Regions from separate parts of the Homo sapiens genome. Here region 2 is linked to region 1. Evidence: promoter capture Hi-C in human tissues and cell types (Jung and others, 2019). All regions are on one chromosome and are shown on one strand. The core of a region is centred on a gene start or on the middle of the fragment in contact, and the rest is flanking DNA. Distances in the headings are between cores, read along the strand shown. Region 1 holds the start of SMLR1 (small leucine rich protein 1). Region 2 overlaps LOC112267974 (a long non-coding RNA gene).

Region 1 (5,683 bases), core at 474-2,973:
ACTTGGAAACTACAGGAAGTCTCCAAGTCCCCGATGATGACATCAGCATCGTTTTATTGTCCCTGGGACGTTCAATGTCAATGGGAGGCTGAGATGCAGTGAGTGTTACGGATGGGAATCTTTGCAACAACTCTGAAAAACATTTCGACTTGGAAGACACTGAAGGGAAGCCATGGTTATGATCTTGGGGATTTCTTATTTTCTCTTCCTTTTTGGAGGCTACTTCCGGGGTTCAGTGGTAATGAATGGCTGGGTGACAAGAGCATCCAACAGACTGGTCTTAGGGCAGTGGAGGATAAACTGACTTAACAAAGAAAAGGATTTATCACATGAATATTATAGAGTGAGGCAGAATATGGCTTGACCCCTCAGCAAAAGGGCTGTTCATAAAAATGAGACACACGAAAAATGAAAGGCTAGGGGCATATTTGAGTAAGTTGTGATGAAAAACTTGATTCCATGACATACTGTCTGTGTCTCCTAGGATTTCTTTATGTTCCAAATCTCATCTTAGGAAGAAATATCCCTCATTGCACTTCTGTTAGGTTATATATTATAGCATTAGTGATCTAAGATTACCACAAAAGCTTGGCAAGTCCAAGAAATGCCTTCATGTATGTTATTACATAAACAGATGTTCAAAGAGGAGGGTTTTTCAAATTTGTTTTAATATGACACTATCCAAATTAAGAAATATGACTGGTCTTTGTTGATTTTGCTAAAATAGTTATTAACCTTGATGATATTAATCTCATGTGTACTTGGCACAGTATTAACACATAGTCTATCTAGTTACAGCCCAGTTTCATTAATTTTAATTATAGCAGAATAAACAGTGTCAATCCAAGACCCGAATGTCCATTCCAAATCACCTTAAGCTTCCTGAGTTATTTGTTTGGTTTGGTTTTTTTCCACCTTAAGACTATAATCCCATGGAACGTTTACACCAAGGTCAAGTATTTATCTATCAGGGCTTTACATTTACAAAGACTGTGACAGCAGAATGTTTGGAACATTCCCTGACCAGAAGTTCAGTGGATGAGAAAGTTGTGTGTGTGCACACACGGGCGCATACACACGCACGGACATGCACACACATGGCCACATAAACACATCTGTCATGTAAAGAAGGCAGACCATGAACAATGTTTTCACATATGTGACTCTATTGCCTTGAGAGAGAGAGACAAGCAACCATATGTCAAAATTGCTGATTCACAGTATGTCTGTGAGGTGCTACACGTGAGGGCCCCCTACAGCAGACCTTCACATCTCAGCACAAGATCCACACAGTGGAAAGGATCAAACTTGGCCAAATTGATCAAGGAACTTGAGAGAACACTGATTGAGAAGTACCTACAAAATATATATATATATGTTTCTCCTGGCCAGAAAACACTGACAGTGCATCGGTATATTTCAAGATGTGCTGTGGGAAAGGATGCCCAAGTTCTTCCTTGTGTGGCCTCACACTTACCCTCAATCAGTTTGATCCTGAAGTAGGCGATGAGGAGGAGCAGCAGCAAAGTCACGGGGAGGAAGACCCCAAAGAACAGGAACCAGCCAGGGAGCTCCCTCATGAAAGCTGACAGCACAGAGCTCATTGCCAACCACACAGACCCCACGGGGACCATGGGAGTCACACTCAGGACCAGGGCAGCTTTCCTCTGAGTCTGTACTTGTTTTCTTCTGGGGCTCCGGCCTTTGCTCAGCATGTCTCAGTGGAATTTTTTGTGGACTTTGCTCTATTTAAATAGTCTGATGAATGCTGATAGGATTGCTGGCAGGTTACTCTGTAACTCAGCTACTAATTGTAGAGGAATTGAAAGGTCCATCTTCCAAGCTCTTTCAGAGATAAGTATGTATCTGGCAGCGGGGGAATGACCTTGGGAAGCTGAGTTTTTTTGTGATAAGTTTATTTGGAATGAAAATTACCCAACCAAGCAAAACTTGTTGTTATGTATATTCTTTCTATGTATTCTCAGACACAGAAGAGTTTTCCCTGTATTTCCTAAATTTTAGAGTTAAAAATTTCTTAATAGTTATGCCACTGTACCTAAGTACTTATGTCTAGAAAAAAGTGAATGTTCCTTTATACATAGTTGATACAATTAATACCAAGGAAAGAGAAACAAGGCTTTTCCCACAAGTAGAAATTCTTCCTCATATATCCTACTCAGAATACTTCTCTGAGAAGTGCATTGGTTTATTCATTTATTCAACAAACATTTAATTCTACTAGAACCCAACTTCTGAACTAGATGCTGGGTATACAAAGAAGAGTAAGTCATGGCCCCTGGCCTTTAAGAGTGGAGATAGACAAACAGAGAATGGCCACAGTGTCCGTGGCGGAGTGGCCCATGATGTAGCCCCATCTCCTTCTTCCTGAGGTACATTCGTCCTTGCTGGCTGCATGAGGTCATATACTCTCCTCTGCTCTACTGGGCCTTTCCTGTGGTCCACCATTCGCAGTTAGAAGGTGGCCTCTCATTGATAGTGGTATGGGTTGTGTGGTAACTCCAGAGTTTCTGGGAAAAGAAAGGGCAATCAATGGACCAATGTCAAAGTTGACATTGACTTGTTGACTATGTTGAGTTGTCATTGACTGCTTTAGTGAAAAATTTCCAAAAATATTGGTCTAAAAATGAAAACTGACTAAAAGAGTCATATTCAAAAGATGCCCTGGAGAATTTGGAAGAATGTGGGGAAGAGAAACTGGCAGCCACCTTCTTGGGCTCATTCCTTCTGTCACACTCTAACCCTGTCCCTGGCGCCCTTTAGTGGTGGCTGGAGGAGTCTATCAAGGGCAAGCCGCTGTCAGTGCCTCCCACATTCTTGCATCAGGGACTTTGCATGGTCATGCAGTCTTAGCCCCAGCTGTAAAGTTTGCACCCTAATTTACAAAATAATAAGACTGGAGAGGGTCTCAGGGTACATGCCTGCATTCCTGATCAATGAAGAGTTAGCAACTTCTCTTTCAGAAGAGAGACATCTTAATTTCAGGAGGAACCCTTCAGAATACCTGAGTTTAAGTCAGCATTCATTTACTCACGTATTTCTCTTCTCCCACTCTGCAAACCTGTGAATGGTGTTACTGCTATTATACTTGCATGCCTTCCATTGAGATGTTTCTCTGGTGCTCTTTCAGTTTGAACAGGATGCTAATTTGTAAAGTGTCAATCTTCAAAGAACCTCTGTGAGCAAGTGACATTACCAGGGAGATGTCAGGCAGCTGTTAGGCAGACTGTTTGTCATATTCTTTCTTCCTGTTTCATTTCCATTCAGCAAGCCTTCATTGAATGCCTAAACAAAGGTAAGTTAGGGGAACAGGAAAATAAATGACAATAATGTTAGCTTCCAGATCAACATATAAACAAAGTATAGTGGAAGCACTGAAGAGAGACTGATTAATTCCAGCCATGGAATTGGGCTGGGCACAGTGGCTCATGCCTGTAATCTCAGCACTTTGGGAGGCTGAGGTGGGTGGATTGCTTGAGCTCAGGAGTTTGAGACCAGCCTGGGAAACATGGTGAAATCCTGTCTCTACAAAAGATAAAACATTAGCCAAGTGCCGTGGCATACACCTGTAGTCCTAGCTACTCGGGAGGCTGAGGTGGGAGGATTGCTTGAGCCTGGGGAGGTCAAGGCTGCAGTGAGCCATGATCGTGCCACTGCACTCCACAGCCTGGGTGACAGAATGAGACCTGGCTAAGAAAAAAAGAAAGAGGGATATTTGAGCTGATCCTGGAAGGTGGGTAGCTGAAGAATGCCCTCCTCAAACACATGACAGGAGCGCTGGTTAGGGTTTAAGGAGGATAGGGCAGAATAATTGAGAGTAGCTGGGTGATGTGGGGTTCAGGCCAGAGAGTGTCTTACACGTTGAGGCTGGAAGAGTGGGGTGGTGTTAGAGCTATTAGACTCTGGAATGTCCTGTTATGTCCCATGCTATTTGAACAAAGGTGACCAATTAAAGGTCTTTGATCATGGAAGTACATGACCTGACCTGAGCTCAGTGGTCACTTAGGTAGGACTTTAAAGAAGGGACTGAAGAGAAGAGATCAGAATAGGCTGTCTCATCATGGTAGCAAGATATAATGAGTTTGGGATTAGAGATGGCAGAGGGAGAGAGAAGGGGACAAGAAAGCTGCAGAAATGAAACAAACAGCTGTGACACATGCAATTCAAAGATTACCACAAAGTAATCTTTGAACACTTACTATTTGTCAGGCACGATATACAACAGTTTATGTTTATAATCTTATTTAATCCTCACAGTAATCTTATGTGGAACAGACTCATAAAGATGAAGAAGCAAAGCAAAGAGAAGGTAAATGACTTGCCCAAGAAACAAATCTGATAAGTGACAAAGTTAGGACTCAAATCCAGTGCCCATGCTCTCATCCACTGTGCAATGGTTAACTGCAGAGATGGTGGTGCTGCAAACCGAGACCTCAACACATGCTGGGCAGCAGGTGTGGATGGGGGAAGATATGTCATTTTGCAGTCTTAAGTTGGAAGTGGTGTAGAGGTGTTTGATCGGAGCCTGGTAGGAATATGGAGAGGCCAAGTCTTGCCATGTAGATTTGGGATTTATTATTGTATAGATAGTAGCTGAGGTGGAAGGATGGAGAGATGCCTCAGAAAGGAGTATATATCAGAATAAAAGAGAAACCAACTACAGACCCTAAAGAATGCTCTTGTTTAAGACATAGGAGGAAGGATAAGAACCAAGAAAAAAACAGAGAAGACAGGAGGCTCTGAGAGGTGAGAAAGGAGCCTAGAGGGAATAATGTTAGGAAAATGGTGGCAAAAGAAAGTTTCAAGAAAGAGAGGAGATAAGTAGTACCATCTACAGGATCCAAGGTAATCCCGATCCACACAGAAAGTTTTGAGAACATAATTGTAAAGTTTTTCCTTTTTTTGTCTCTTTAAGTAGCTCATCTGGGGTACAATTGCATACAACGAACTGCACATATCTCAAGTGTACAATTTGATATGTTTTGACATATGGATATGCCCACAAATTCATCAACACAATCAAATGGTGAACATACCCACCACCCCCAAAGTTTTCTTGTGTCCTTTCCTATCCCTGTCCCCCACCCCTCCCACTCCCTCAATCCTCAGGCAATCACTCATTTATTATCTGTTACTGTACATTCATTTGCACTTTCTAGAATTTTATATGAATGGAGTCATGCAATATGTCTCTTTCTACCTAGCTTCCTTCACTCATCATAATTATTTGAAATTCATTCATATTGTCATATATGTCAATTTCATTGTTTTGTATTGCTGAATACCATTTCATTGTATAGATATCCATTTGTTTATTCATTCACCTGTTCGTGGACATTTGGGCTGCTTCCCATTTTAGGCTACTACAAATAAAGCTGCTATGAACATTCCTGTACTAGTCTTTATACATACATGTGCTTCCATTTCTCTTGGAGAAATACCTAGTAGAAATGCTGGATCATATGGTAAATGTATGTTGACATTTTAAGAAATTGTCAGACTGTTTTCCGAAGTGGTTATACAATTTCGTAACCCCACCAGCAGTGTATGGGAGTTCCAGTTCCTTCACATACTCAGCTTTTCTTGGTATGGTGACTCTTTTTAATTTTAGCCATTCCGATGGTGGGAAGGGATATCTCATTGTGGTTTTAGTATGTATTTCCCT
Region 2 (5,683 bases), core at 1,938-4,437, 510 kb after region 1:
TTTAAAGCAATAAAAAGATACACAAGAACCCCTGGCTCCTTGGCAAGATTGGACTGCAGCCTCACAGTGTGAGGCACCGGGAAAGAATTTGTTCTTGTGTGTAGGCTGAACCCAGACCAGTAGGCGATTGCATCTGGGCAAGATCTGTGAATGAGTTAACATTTTTCTATTCCAAAAAAAAAAAAATGTTCTCCAAAAAGTAGTTTTTGTTATTTTACTTTCAGCTGTTTTCAAGGATAATGTTCAGATTTTTTGAATTCAGGAATTCACTTGAGGTATTTAACAGATCTTTCGGCTTCTTCCCAGCCTAATTTTCCTAATAAGCAGCATTTTAACCTACTTTCTTTAAGAAAAGAGAAATAACTTCAAGGGGAAAGAAAGTAGAGTAAGCTGATACAAACACTCCAGAAAGTGCTTCACAATTTGAAAAGTGTCTAAGAATGAAACTTTATATTTTGATGGTAAAAAAAGCTAGTTCCAAAAATAATTATGCCTTAATATTACACAAATTCATTCAACCATATGAAAAATATAGACTGTCAAGAATATTCTTCACAAACATTTCTTAACAGCAAAATCAATCACAGTTAACATACTCATCATATGTATGGCTTTTGCCAAATTCGAGCAGCAATCTGTTTAAAAGGAGAAAAAAGCACTAAATATGAGTCCTCGTTTCTAATCTGAAAATAAGAGGGTTGACCTAATGATCTCGAAGGTAACTGCTAATTTAAAAAGCCTGCTATCCTAGATCAGTATTTTGAGATTAAACTAATCTTTCCAAACTAAACTTTCTAAACTTTGTAAATTATTAACAGTAATTTGCTCTATGTAAAATGTTAAGACATTTTGAAGGTTTATTTAAATTTAAAGTGTTCTATTTTGAATCATGCAAGATTGATATGTTATAAAAAAAAAGTTCCAAGATGTTAAATGCCAGAGTGTATTTATTCATTCATCCCTTGTGCATCCCATGCACACCATCATATTGAGCCATTTATTTATTCATTCATTGGTTTAAATATTTATTGAGCATATGCTGCATAGCCAGCACTTAAAAGACACTAATGAAAGGGAACCAGAAGACACATTTTCTGCCCTTTTCCCTTAGAACCTGATTGGATGGGAAATTCTTTTTTTTTTTTTTTTTTTTTTTGAGACAGAGTCTACCTCTGTGACCCAGGCTGCAGTATAGTGTCACGATCTCAGCTCACTGCAACCTCCGCCTCCCGGGTTCAAACAATTCTTCTGCCTCAGCCTCCTGAGTAGCTGGGATTACAGGCACATGCCACCACGCCCAGATAAGTTTTGTATTTTAAGTAGAGATGGTGTTTCACCATGTTGGCCAGGCTGGTCTTGAACTCCTGGCCTCAAGTGATCCGCCTGCCTTGGCCTCCCAAAGTGCTAGGATTACAGGTGTGAGCCACCATGCCTGGCCTGGACAGGAAATTCCTGAATGGTGCTTAACATGTACAGCAATAGTCTAAGCACTCATCATACAAAAAAAAAAAAAATTGGAAATTTTACCTTGCAAAATATTAGTGTGTCTTTGTCCATAATTTCAGGGAAATACAAGTGAAAGAGTGAATTAAGATACTTGAATGATGTGACTTGTCAGGGATTTGCTGCCAAGAGCATCTCACAGGGAAGCCAGGAGTGTGGATGGGTAAAGAGGAAGTAGGGATCTGGGAACTGAAAACCCCAACATAGAGGCTTCAGGGAGCCTGGTTTTTGCAAGGTCTGGGAAAGAGGTATCCGTTGTCCTGTTCTCTCACTTGTCTCTATTTTATATCTGTCTAACATTCACCTATCAGAAGAATCACTTAAAAACATTATATTTATTATGAACAGCAGACATTATTTGCTGTTTTGACTTTTTATAAAATGCTCCATGGTAACTGCTTGTAAAACGGTTTTATTTTATATGTCAATGGCCTTTGCATGATAGTCCTTGTCTGACTTTCCATCTATTATTCCATGAACATTTTCTATTGTCAACTTTTAAATGCTAGGAAAAAAACAAACTAGTGGCTTGAGAGTCAAGCCTATTCCATTTTCTGTTAACCAGCAAATCACTCCCATACTGCCACCTAGTGGGCCATAGCAGCAGCTTCCACGATTGACAGAAATTGTTAATTCAAGTAAACTCAAATTTAGGATTCTTCAAAATTTCTGCTTTTGCATTAGTTGCTTGGAATACTCAAATCATCTTAACATAAAAATGATATCATGAATGGTTGTTAGGTTTCCACCTTGCTCATAAAACCATTGATCCCACATAAAACCATTGAACCATTTGCTTTGGTTTGGTTTGGTTTTTTGAGACAGTCTCACTCACTCTGTCGCCCAGGCTGGGGTGCAGTGGTGCAATCTCGGCTCACTGCAACTTCTGCCTCCCGAGTTCAAGTGATTCTCCTGCCTCAGCCTCCGAGTAGCTGGAATTACAGGCGTGTGTCACCATGCCCGGCTACTACAATGTACTTTGAATGAACACTGTCTATGTATGCAGACCTATCTGTAGTCACAGCTCCGTGGAGATGTCTCGTGTCATCTCACTTGTACCTTCTGCTCTTACTCGTCCTACAATCTATGAGAAAATGCCTGATTCCCAGCCTTCCACTCCAGCCTTGATGCCTCGACCTGTACTCTGGCTTGGGCAGAAAAAGAACTTCCTTGGGGTCCATCTCTCTCTCTCTCAGCCTGCTGCTGGTTCCTGAAGCTGTGGCTCAACCAAGAACCAGATTCCGCCTCTGTCCCTGTCCCAATTCTGGACTAGCCTCCATTCCACCCTTGCCTGGCCCCTTTGGATGCCTCGCTCCAGCCTTGCCTCTCTGATGGCTCAGTTAAACCCTCACTAATGAGTTCCCATAGTGATTTTCACCCTGTGGCTGGATCAGGCCCTCACAGCTCCTCTTGACCAGAGAGGTAGTTGTCTTCTCTGCTTATTCCTCCTTTCCAAATATTTTTAAGTGTATGATGAATTAGTAGTGTGTTTGCCTGATCCTAGGGAAAAAGGGACACAGTAGCTTAAGGAATTTCTCATTCTTCTGGTTTTCTGTGATGGCCTCTGTCCTTGAGTTGAGGTCTGAATATATGTAGAATATATCTAGCTAAAAGGAGCCTGCCTTATAGTCTAGACTTTTTTTTCAAATTTTATATAAAGGTGTCAAATATGTAATGGATATATACGTAGCTTGGCCAGGCAGTGTTTCGGGCCCTAGATATAAGATGCTGTTCTCATCTTATTTTATTGGGGGAATGAGAGACAGACAGCAAGTTAGCACATATATAACATATAATAATACTTTGAATGATGAAAAATGTCTTGAATGAGAAAAAACAAGGTAAGAGGACAATGAGTACTGGGAATTGTATGTGTCAGTGGGGATATTTTACATAGTTTTCTAAGGAACACCTCTGGATTAGTTGTCTATGGCTGCATAAAAAATTATCCAGAGGTTTAGCAGCTTAAAATAACAAACATTTATTACTTCGCCATTTCCATGGGTCAGCAATCCAGGTGCAGATGAACTGGGTGCCTGTGAATCAAGGAGGTCTCTCACAAGTCAGCCATCAGGGTTGGGGCTGCAATCATTTCCAAGCTTAACTGGGAGAGTATCTGCTTCCAAGCTCACTCACATGGCCAGTGACAAGCCCCAGGTGCTCACTGGCTCTCGATCACAGATATCAGTTTCTTGCCTTATAGGTCTGTCCGTAAGGCAATTGACAAGAGTTCTAAGAAAGATAGAATGAGAAAGACTGGTACAGAGCATGAAAGATGTAAGCCAGACTCTTTTTGTAACCTCATTGTGGAGGTGGCATCCTATCACTTCATTGCATTCTATTTGCTACAAGTGAGTCACTAGGTCCAGCCCACACTCACCTAGTAAATACAAGCAGGCAGAGATCATTGGGAGTTATGTTAGACAAAGTGATATTGGATGAGAGGCTAGAATGAAGTAAGGAGCAAACTCTCTGGGGAAGCATTACCCATGTCAAGGGATCAGCAAATATGTAAACCTTGAGACAGGCACATTCTTGATGTGTTCAAAGAACAGCAAGATTTGCTTGTCTGGAGCCCAGGAAGCAAAGGAGAGAAGCACAGAAGATGAAGTCAGATATACCTGGAAGGTAGACATGGACCTGCTGTGTATCACTATAGATCAGTGTGTAATTTTAAGAATTTTATATAAATGGAATTAGACATTTATATAAATAATAATCAGCATAATTGTTTTGAGATTTATCCATGTTCTTGAGTATATCAATAATCCATTCCTCTTTATGTCATTGATTGTAACACTGTTAATCTATTCACCTGTTGATGGGCATTTAGGTTGTTTTTAGTTTGGGGCCGTTACAAACAAAGTTGCTATAAACATTCATGTGCAAATCTTTTTATTTATCTTGGATAGTTACATGAGCACGCAATACCTGAGTCATACAGCAGCTATATGTATCTTTTTTAAAACTGCCAAGCTGTTTTCCAAAGTGGCAGGACCATTTTCCATTCCCACCATTCAATGTGTGAGAATTCCAGTTGCTCCACATTCTCCCCCAACATTTGATTTTTAATTTTAGCCATTCTAATACGTGCATAGTGACATTCTTTTGTGGCTTTAGTTTTCCTTTCCTCAATGATTAGTGCTATTTAACATTTTTTCATCTACCTACTTGCTATTCATTTATCTTCTTTGATGAAGCTTCTGTTCAGATTTCCCCCATTTCTTTTTTTGAAGAGGAAAGAGTTGTTTGAGTTTTGAGAATTCTCTGTATATTCTGGATCTGAGTCTTTTATTAGATATGCGTTTGATATTTATTTCCCATTTTTTCCATTTGTTCTTTATTGCCTTTTTCCTTTTACTGCCTTCTTTTGGATGGATTGAATAGTTTGTATTATTCCATTTTCATATTCTCCACAATTTTTTAATGTGTTGGGGGACGTGTGTGTGTGCATGTGTGTGTGTGTTTATTTTTTTCTCTTTGCAATTCATTTTGGAAACTTTTTATTGATCTGCTTCAAGTTTACTGATTCTTTTCTTAGCCATGTCAGGTCTACAATTATTTCTAATTTTCCCCTTCTGGGTATTTTTTGTTTATTTGTTTTGCTGCTGCTTTCATGCATTTTACTTCTACATGTTAAACTTACACATTAAAACCCCACAATATTTGGTTTTTAATTCTGCCTCAAGCCATTGATTATATTTTAAAGATATTTAATAAGAAAATTCTCTATATTTTTCTACATGCCATTTCTTAATTCTCTTCATTATTTTGTATAGGACCAAATTTCCATCTAGCATCATTTGCCTTATGCTTGAAAGACTTCTTTCAACATTTTTTGTAGGGCAGGGTCTGCTGGTGATTAATTCCTTTAACTAATATGTACCTTCATTTTTGCAAGATGTTTTCCCTGGATAAAAAATTACAGGCTGAAAGTTTTGTTTTTGTTTTTTCAGTATTTACTGATGTTGCTCCACTGTTGTCTAGTTTGCATTGTTTTCATCAAGAACTCTGCTCTCCTCCTTGTCTTTTTTCCTTTGTATCTAATGTGTCTTTCGCTTCGGGCTTTTAAATTTTTCTTTTTTTAACTGGTTTTAAGCAATTTCATTATAACGTGTCTTTGCATACTTTTCTTCATGTTTCCTATGCTTGGAGTTCTTTAAGATTCTTAGACCTGAGG

The links. Contacts are between HindIII fragments. The study calls those that stand out against the background at their distance.
Region 2: a fragment that was not itself captured here is called in contact with the fragment with the promoter of SMLR1 in region 1 in 1 of the 25 tissues and cell types used here (aorta).

The regions. Positions count from the first base shown.
Region 1 is chr6:130,823,446-130,829,128 of GRCh38, reverse strand. SMLR1 (small leucine rich protein 1) reads right to left here and starts at 1,723. Exons shown (of 2, transcript NM_001195597.2): 1 at 1,478-1,723. The coding sequence starts at 1,715. RefSeq lists an enhancer at 2,686-2,980. The HindIII fragment of the contact is 14,306 bases long and covers 1-5,683 here.
Region 2 is chr6:130,319,276-130,324,958 of GRCh38, reverse strand. It overlaps LOC112267974 (a long non-coding RNA gene), which reads right to left. Exons shown (of 3, transcript XR_002956398.2): 3 at 1,457-5,683. It also overlaps a transcript of SAMD3 not described here. Among named protein-coding and RNA genes, the nearest start is that of TMEM200A, 44 kb to the left of the region's middle. The HindIII fragment of the contact is 6,413 bases long and covers 1-5,683 here.